Linked DNA regions of Homo sapiens: region 2 is linked to region 1. The links are contacts of gene promoters, found by promoter capture Hi-C in blood cells and fetal thymus (Javierre and others, 2016). All regions are on one chromosome and are shown on one strand. Each heading gives the region's core, a stretch centred on a gene start or on the middle of the fragment in contact. The rest is flanking DNA. Distances are from core to core; before and after follow the strand shown. Region 1 holds the start of DEFB129 (defensin beta 129). Region 2 has its middle 8.1 kb from the start of DEFB132.

What was found. The method cuts DNA at HindIII sites, captures the fragments that hold promoters and counts their contacts. A CHiCAGO score of 5 or more calls a contact.
Region 2: a contact is called between a fragment that was not itself captured here and the fragment with the promoter of DEFB129 in region 1, in 1 of 17 cell types (M2 macrophages). The highest score is 5.1, in M2 macrophages.

The regions. Positions count from the first base shown.
Region 1 is chr20:225,446-229,275 of GRCh38, reverse strand. It overlaps DEFB129 (defensin beta 129), which reads right to left and starts at 2,018. Exons shown (of 2, transcript NM_080831.4): 1 at 1,930-2,018. The coding sequence starts at 1,987. The HindIII fragment of the contact is 3,129 bases long and covers 714-3,830 here.
Region 2 is chr20:263,949-267,778 of GRCh38, reverse strand. No RefSeq gene overlaps it. Among named protein-coding and RNA genes, the nearest start is that of DEFB132, 8.1 kb to the right of the region's middle. The HindIII fragment of the contact is 2,347 bases long and covers 932-3,278 here.

The sequences.
Region 1 (3,830 bases), core at 769-3,268:
GTATAAAAAAAGAGAAAGCCATTGAGCCAAGGTTAATAACTAGAGATGATGTTAAAACTGCTAGTGGGAGATGGATAGACTAAGAGAGAGTTTACTCATACTACATTTTAAGCCCAGTGTTTAGGAATGTTGATGAAGGCAAATGGGCAGGCTGAGAGCGTCTCTATGCCCCTCTTGAATCCAAAGTAAATTTCCTGTTTAGTCTGCCTTCCTTGAGTAACTTTAAGAAGCAAAGGGCACGTAGATGATAGAGTAATTATTTGCTTTTAGGATGGAATTTTAGACCTTCAACTTAGCATCTTAGGTACTTGTCAGACATCACTATCCCATCTCCATAATCTTGGGAAATACCAATGAGAGCCAAGTCCATCATAAAACTAATTTAAGAAAGAAGTTCAAAAGAGAATCAATAGAATTTTCAGGAGTCTTATCTTTTCACCAAACTCAGTAGCCCATGACTTCTCTCTTCTCAACAATCACTAGATCTGTGATTCCTGAAGCATGGTGTTCTATCTCTTCTAGCCTCTTTGGACACTCTATCTCTCAGAAGTCTCATTCATTATCCTAGCCTTAACCTCATATCCACCAAGGTAACTTCTGTATTGTTATCTATAATTCTAAATTTCCTGCTCGGCTTAGTACCTTATCTTTATCTGCTGAATGACTTTTCCATCCTAATGTCTCGTGTTTCTTTTTTCTGAATCAAGAAAGCTTTTCTCCCTTGTTCATCTTAATAACCCAATGATTTTCCCTAAATTACAAGAGATTTATGTAGCATCTGCTAATTTTCAAAGCATATTTGCATACATTTCCACATTGTTTTCTCATCAAACGGGAAACAGAAAAATTCTTATATTGGAATCAGCTGCATTGATTAACCCCATTATACTCATGTGAAATTGAAGTTCAAAGTGGTTAAGTGACTTTACCCAAGATGACACAGCCATACTTGCTTATGGTACTACCCTTTTCCTAGGGTCCCAAGATAAAAACATTAGAAGATAAAAACATTAGAAGCATCTTTGACACTTCCACTTTCCCTGCCCCGAAACCCTTTGCTAATTTTTTCAAATAGCTGGATGATTCTTGTATTCTGAAACAAATCTCAGTGCTTCTCCTTTCTTTTCCAAAAACAATGGTTAATCCCCTGGCTTAGCCTTTTGCTATAATGCATTCCTAGATGCCCTTATGGTAGTTTGGGGGTTTTCAGGAAGACAAAGTCTGAGAGAAGCGATAAAGGCTCTGGAAAACCTGAAAGAATTCAAGATGGAGAACACAGGCCTGTTTACTTGATCTTGAAAGGGTTTTTTTTTGAGCATGAGGGAAGAACTTCCTCCTTTCTACACCAAGCACAAACTGATAGGAAACTTTGCTTCAAGAGGTGGTTTCACAGGAAGGGGAACAACACACACTGGGGCCTGTTGGGTGGAGGGAGAGCATCAGGAAAAATAGCTAATGCATCCTGGGCTTAATACCTGGGCGATGGGTTGGTAGGTGCAGCAAATAACCATGACACACATTTACCTATGTAACAAACCGCACATCCTGCACAAGTACCCCAGGACTTTTTTTAAAAAAAAAGGGCTTTTAAGATAGAAATAGAGCTAAAAGGAGGTAGACCTGGGCTTAGTCTTAGCATGATAGACATATACAGGGCAGGAAGGCAGCATTATATTTTGGATAGTTTCTGAATAGACAAAAAATACCCTGCTTTCTCTGTAGCTTCCTGGGTGTTTCCACTGGACACAATCTGGCAGTTGGGGCCTATGAGAATGTATCAGTGCATGACTGATACAATAGGTAAGCTCTTTAGCCATCTTTTTGAACAGCTAATCTTTCAGTCTCCTCTCTTTGGGTTTCCATTGTCATGGGCAGCCAAATCCTTGGTTCCTCTCATCTACCCATCTTAAACTTGGGAATCCACATTACCTGTGTTCACCTGGTACTGTAGCATGAGGCTGGCAAAGATAGGAAAAAGGAGCTTCATGGTTGGGTGCCAGAGAGGAAGCCTTGAATCTGGGTTGATGCTCCTGAGCTCCAGCCTTTATTGGCCTCTTCGTGGCCTTATGCCATGAGCAGTGAAGTGCAGCCAAAGCAGGTTTGTATGCTGCTCGCAGTATAGTTGTGTTTTTTCTGACTCTGTTTGAAAACACCCTTTCTTGAACACCTCTATGCAACAAATTCCTTGCTCTTGATCCTGGAGGAAAACATAAGATAGGTAAGATGAGAAAGAAAGAGCAAGCCCTTTGCATGTGTCTCTCTTTTGCTTTTTTGAGATGGAGTCTCACTCTGTTGCCCAGGCTGGAGTGCAGTGGCGTGATCTCGACTCACTGCAACCTCCGCCTCCCAGGTTCAGGCAATCCTCCTGCCTCAGCCTCCCAAGTAGAGTATCTGGGACTACAGGCATGCACCACCATGCCCAGCTAACTTTTGTATTTTCAGTAGAGACGGGGTTTCACCATGTTGGCCAGGCTGGTCTCAAACTCCTGACCTCAAGTGATCCGCCCACCTTGGCCTCCCAAAGTGCTGGGGTTCCAGGCATGAGCCACCGCACCCAGTCGCATGTCTCTTTCTTAACGTTGGAGTAGGATAAGAGTTAGATATTTGATTCACTGATTGTCAGCCCAGTTATGCTAAGGTTGGCACTTAGTGCATGAGAATTAGAAGAGCTAGAGGAGAGTGAAGATTCTGCCTTGTTTGTACTGGTATGTCCAGTGGCCAGCATGGGTATTGGATCAACATACAAAGTCAGTACGTTTGTTAAACAAGTTCGTGGGAGACAGCTCTTGGCACATCTTTAACTTTTGAGTTTACAATGATTCCCACATCCTTTTAAAGTAGCAACTAAAAAAAAACTTTTTTAACTTCGCGGGTATATGTGCAGGATGTGCTGGTTTGTTACATAGGTAATGTGTGTCATGGGGGTTGGTTGTATAGATTATTTCATCACCCAGCTATTAAGCCTAGTGTCCATTAGTTATTTTTCCTCATCCTCTCCCTCCTCCCACCTTCCACTCTCCAGTAAGCTCCAGTGTGTGTTGTTCCCCTCTGTGTGTCCATGTGTTCTCATCATTTTGCTCCCACCTATAAGTGAGAACATGCAGTATTTGGTTTTCTGTTTCTGCCTTCATTTGCTAAGGATAATGGCCTCCAGCTCCATCCATGTCCCTGCAAAGGACACGATCTCATTCTTTTTTATGGCTGCATAGTATTCCGTGGTATATATGTACCACATTTTCTTTATCCATTCTTTATCCAAATGGCCAAATGATGGGCATTTGGGTTGATTCTATGTCTTTGTTATTGTGAATAGCGCTGCAGTGAACATATGCATGCATGTGTCTTTATAATAGAACCATTTATATTCCTTTGGGCATATACCCAGTAATAGGATTGCTAGGTCAAATGGTATTTCTGACTTTAGGTTTTTGAGGGATTGCCACACTATCTTCCACAATGGTTGAAATAATTAAAAGCAGCAATTTTTATAGTGTACTGCTCAGATTCCTTGGTCGTAGCTGATTGATCCAGGTGTAACAATAGAACCAAGCCTACCAATCAGATGCTTTCCCCTGCTAATTTGGGACATTTCCTAAGAAACTCAGATATTGAAGCTCATTGGCTCTGAATATTATTAATTGTTCAAGTTTCAAGAGTTTCCCTGGTTCCTCGCCTTCCTGAAATTCATGTCTTCTTAGGATTTCATTAGCTACTATAGTATCCAATGACTCCTCAGTTTTGTTTAAATTAACTGTTATTTTTTAAAACAATAAAAGCAAATCTTATGAACTTTCACTTTATGAAATGTATATTTTACTTCTATGAACAAA
Region 2 (3,830 bases), core at 856-3,355, 38 kb before region 1:
GCAGGAGTGAGAAAGAAGAGGTTTATGGGAACCCGAGGTTGAAGGGGAAATCAGCACTGGATATCACCTTTAATGGGAAGGACAGGCAACTGGGACGTCTCCAGAGCACTTAATAAGCTGTAGAGGTACTATTTAGATGACCAGACATTATTATTATTTTTAATGTAGTTTTTATTTTTATAGATTTACGGGGTACAAATACATATATTGCATAGTGGTGGAGTGGGCTTCTAGTGCCCCATTACCCGGATAGTGAATGTTGCACCCAATAGGTAATTTTTCAACCCTCACCCCTCTCCGCCTCCCATCGTTTGTAGCCTCCAATGTCTATTATTCCAATCTATACCACACATTACTTTTTAATTTTAGTAGGAGTTGGTTGAAAACCCTATTCTGGGGCTCAGTGAGTCCGGCTAATTGGGTAAATGGAAGTTTCATGGAATTTCCTGTTCCCTAAGGCCCGTGTCTGTGTATCTTGTGAAGTGTGAGTCTTGGCCTGGATCTCTTGTGTCTGGGACGCCAGTAGACATTGGGAGGTCTTTGGCAGGGCCCTGAAAAGTGTCTGGTGCGCCCGTTTGGCCAGCGCGTGCGACCTCCAGGGCGCGGGTGTACCGAGTGCTGCCGGCAGATGGCGGTAGAGACTGGCACAAATCAATCAGCCTCGAGGGCGGGCTGCGGGGCGTGGGGGAGCGGTGCGGAATGCGTCCTGGTCGTGAGTCGCCAGGGGCGCATTTTACGGCAGAATCCGCACCTGGAGATGACCATGTTGGCCCTTAGTGTGGCGAAAGAGAGAGAGAGGCCTTTGTTCTGCGCGCATTGCGAGTGCCCAGTCCCTGCCTACGCGAGCTGGCTTTGAGCCCCCTCTCCCAGCGTTCAGCTCCTGTCCCCATTTCTACTCCCTCCAGCCTTCTTTCTTCGCGCCAGCCAAGCTTATCTCCCGCCCGGTCTTTGCAGGGCCGGTGGGTCATCAGCTTTGCATGTTGTCCTCAAGGTCTTCACGTGGCCGGCTTATCGTGCAGTCACAGCTCTTTTCCCTTCTTAGAGAGGTCCTGCCTGACCACCATTTCTAACCAGGTTCTTCCTCCCCATCACTTTCCATCTATCACTCTGTTTTATTTTCTTTGTAGCTGTGATCACTACCTGATTTTACACATTCATTTTGTTAATGTTTATTACACATTCTGCTAGGTGAAATGAGTCAAACACAGAAAGACAAATACTTCATGTTCTCACTTACACATGGAATCTAAAACAATTGAGCTGTAGTCAAAAACCACCAGGGATCATGACAGACGGGAGGCAGGACTAGATTGCAGCTCCCACTCGGACGGTCAGAGCAGCGTGTGGAGGCTCGCATCATTAAGTTTTGCTTCAGAAGGACTGCAGGAACGCATTAGGGAAGCCAGGAGAACCCACAGACCCTCTGAAGGAAACGGATTGCTCCTTGAGGAGGGCTGCCAGAGGCCCAGAGCGGCCACAGGGAGAAGGAAACCTCCAGCTGAACTTTGTAACAATTTGAACTGATCAAGAAGCCTCCTGGCCAGAACTCAGAAAAGAACCTATTTGTCCTAATGCTCTCCCTTCCCTTTCCCCCACACCCGAACTTTATGCATTTTAACATGTTTATTAGATTCACCGAATCGCTTAGCCTTTTGGAACTCCCTCGAGTTACATTTTTAAAGTCACTTTCCCCTTTCTCAAGCCCCTAGCAGGCTGAGCTCTTATCTGCGGCTTCTGGGGAAGAATCAGCTTCCAAGCTCATTCAGGTTGTTGATAGAATTCAGTTCCTTGCACGTGTAGAATTGAAGACCCCACTTCCTTGCTGGCTGCCACCTGGGGGCTGCTTTCAGCTTCTAGGGGCCATCCATGTTCTTCCTCATGGGCCCCTGCATCTTCAAGCCACTATACCATTTTCATTTATTTATTTATTTATTTAAGATGGAGTCTTGCTCTCTTGCCCAGGCTGAAGTGCAGTGGCATGATCTCAGCTCATTGCAACCTCTGCCTCTCAGGTTCAAGCAATTTCCGGCTATTTTTTTGGTATTTTTAGTAGAGGTAGAGTTTCACCATGTTGGCCAGGCTAGTCTCGAACTCCTGACCTCAAGTGATGCACCCACCTTGGCCTCCCAAAGTGCTACCATTACAGGCATGAGCCACCGTACCCGGCATCATTATACCATTTTCAATATTCAATTGAAATATTCAATTTCATAATAGCATTTTAGCTTTAGTGGTTAAAATCTGCCTGGAAGTAGATTAACAGTACAACCTCTTAAGATATTTTCCCTTTTCCTACTCCTTTTCCTCCTTCTCTCCTTTCCAAGGCCAATAACACAGTGTACAATCATCCTTCAAATAAGATTTAAAATTATTTTTCTTCTTCTTCTTTGCAGGGAAAAAAAACTAGCAAAGAAACATGAATAAACTAAGCATATACCTATTAAAAAGTTATTGAGGCCAGGCGCGGTGGCTCACACCTGTAATCCCAGTACTTTGGGAGGCCAAGGCGGCAGATAATGAGGTCAGGAGTTCGAGACCAGCCTTGCCAACATGGTGAAACCCCATCTCTACTAAAAATACAAACAATAGCTGGGCATGGTGGCCGGTGCCTGTAATCCCAGCTACTCAAGAGGCTGAGGCAGGAGAATCATTTGAATCTGGGAGTCGAAAGTTGCAGTGAACCGAGATCGTGCCATTGCACTCCAGCCTGGGTGACAAGGCAAGACTCCGTCTCAAAAAAAAAAAAAAAAAAAAAAACCAAAAAAGTTATTGAGATTGAGCATATTTAAAGCTGGATTTTCATCTTTTCAAGCATTACATGCTGGTCACAATAACTGTTTCAGTCAGCTTTAAGGCTGCTCCTTGCAGCAAAATGAAAAGACAAGAGGAAAAGAAAAGGAAAGAATTCGTTAAGTCTTTTCATAGGAGAATTGCTTACCTAAATTAACATAGAAGTTTAAGTTATAGCTCTTGAGAATTTATATTTTAATATTTTATATTAATATTTTGTAAGAGCCACTTTTGTATAAAAGTTCTCTATTATCTTCATATACTGAATAAGTTTGTCCTACCAAATGATATTTTTGTGATTGCATCTTTTACTTTCTGATTTCTAAAATTAACATACAGTAAAAAAGATGACATTTGGGTGTACGGTTGCACGAGTTTTCACCACCAGCATGATCAGGGTGCAGTTCTATCACCTCCCCAAATTCCCTTGGTCTCCTGGACCACCACAGAGAGGAATTCTTTTATATTCTGCCTAGGAAATCAAAGCTTGGCTGACAGGCCAGTTGAAGCTGAGGGTAGAGGGAGCAGCCATCTTGCAGTCCAACAGGTATTCTTTCAGTCCTTGCATGTTAACATTAAAAGGCTTTCATTATATATTAAAAGCCTATTTATTTTATTTTATAAAATAAATAAATAATTAAAACCATAAGGAAAAACAGTTTCATTGATACATGAAATTTAGGTCAATTGCTTCCTCGAGACACAATCCCCAAATCGTTGGTAGTGCTGTCAGTGGTAAACTATTAAAGGATGCAACACGACCCCTGGGAAAGACAGGATGCTGTACCTCATTTCTACCCCTTCATCCACACTGAAGGGAGGGAGACAGAACTGAGAAGACTCCTACTGCCATTCATGGCACCCAGGCTGTAGGTGCCGAGCTGCCCTCAGCCCCACCTCGGCTTTCCTCCTATGCTCGTCAGCACCCGAGGTCTGTAGGGGTCCGAGGCGGCAGGGGGCTGGTATGTCAGCACTGCCCCAAGCGTGTGCACACCCAACAGGCTATGACAGCACCTGGGCTTGGCCTCAACTTTGCTCCA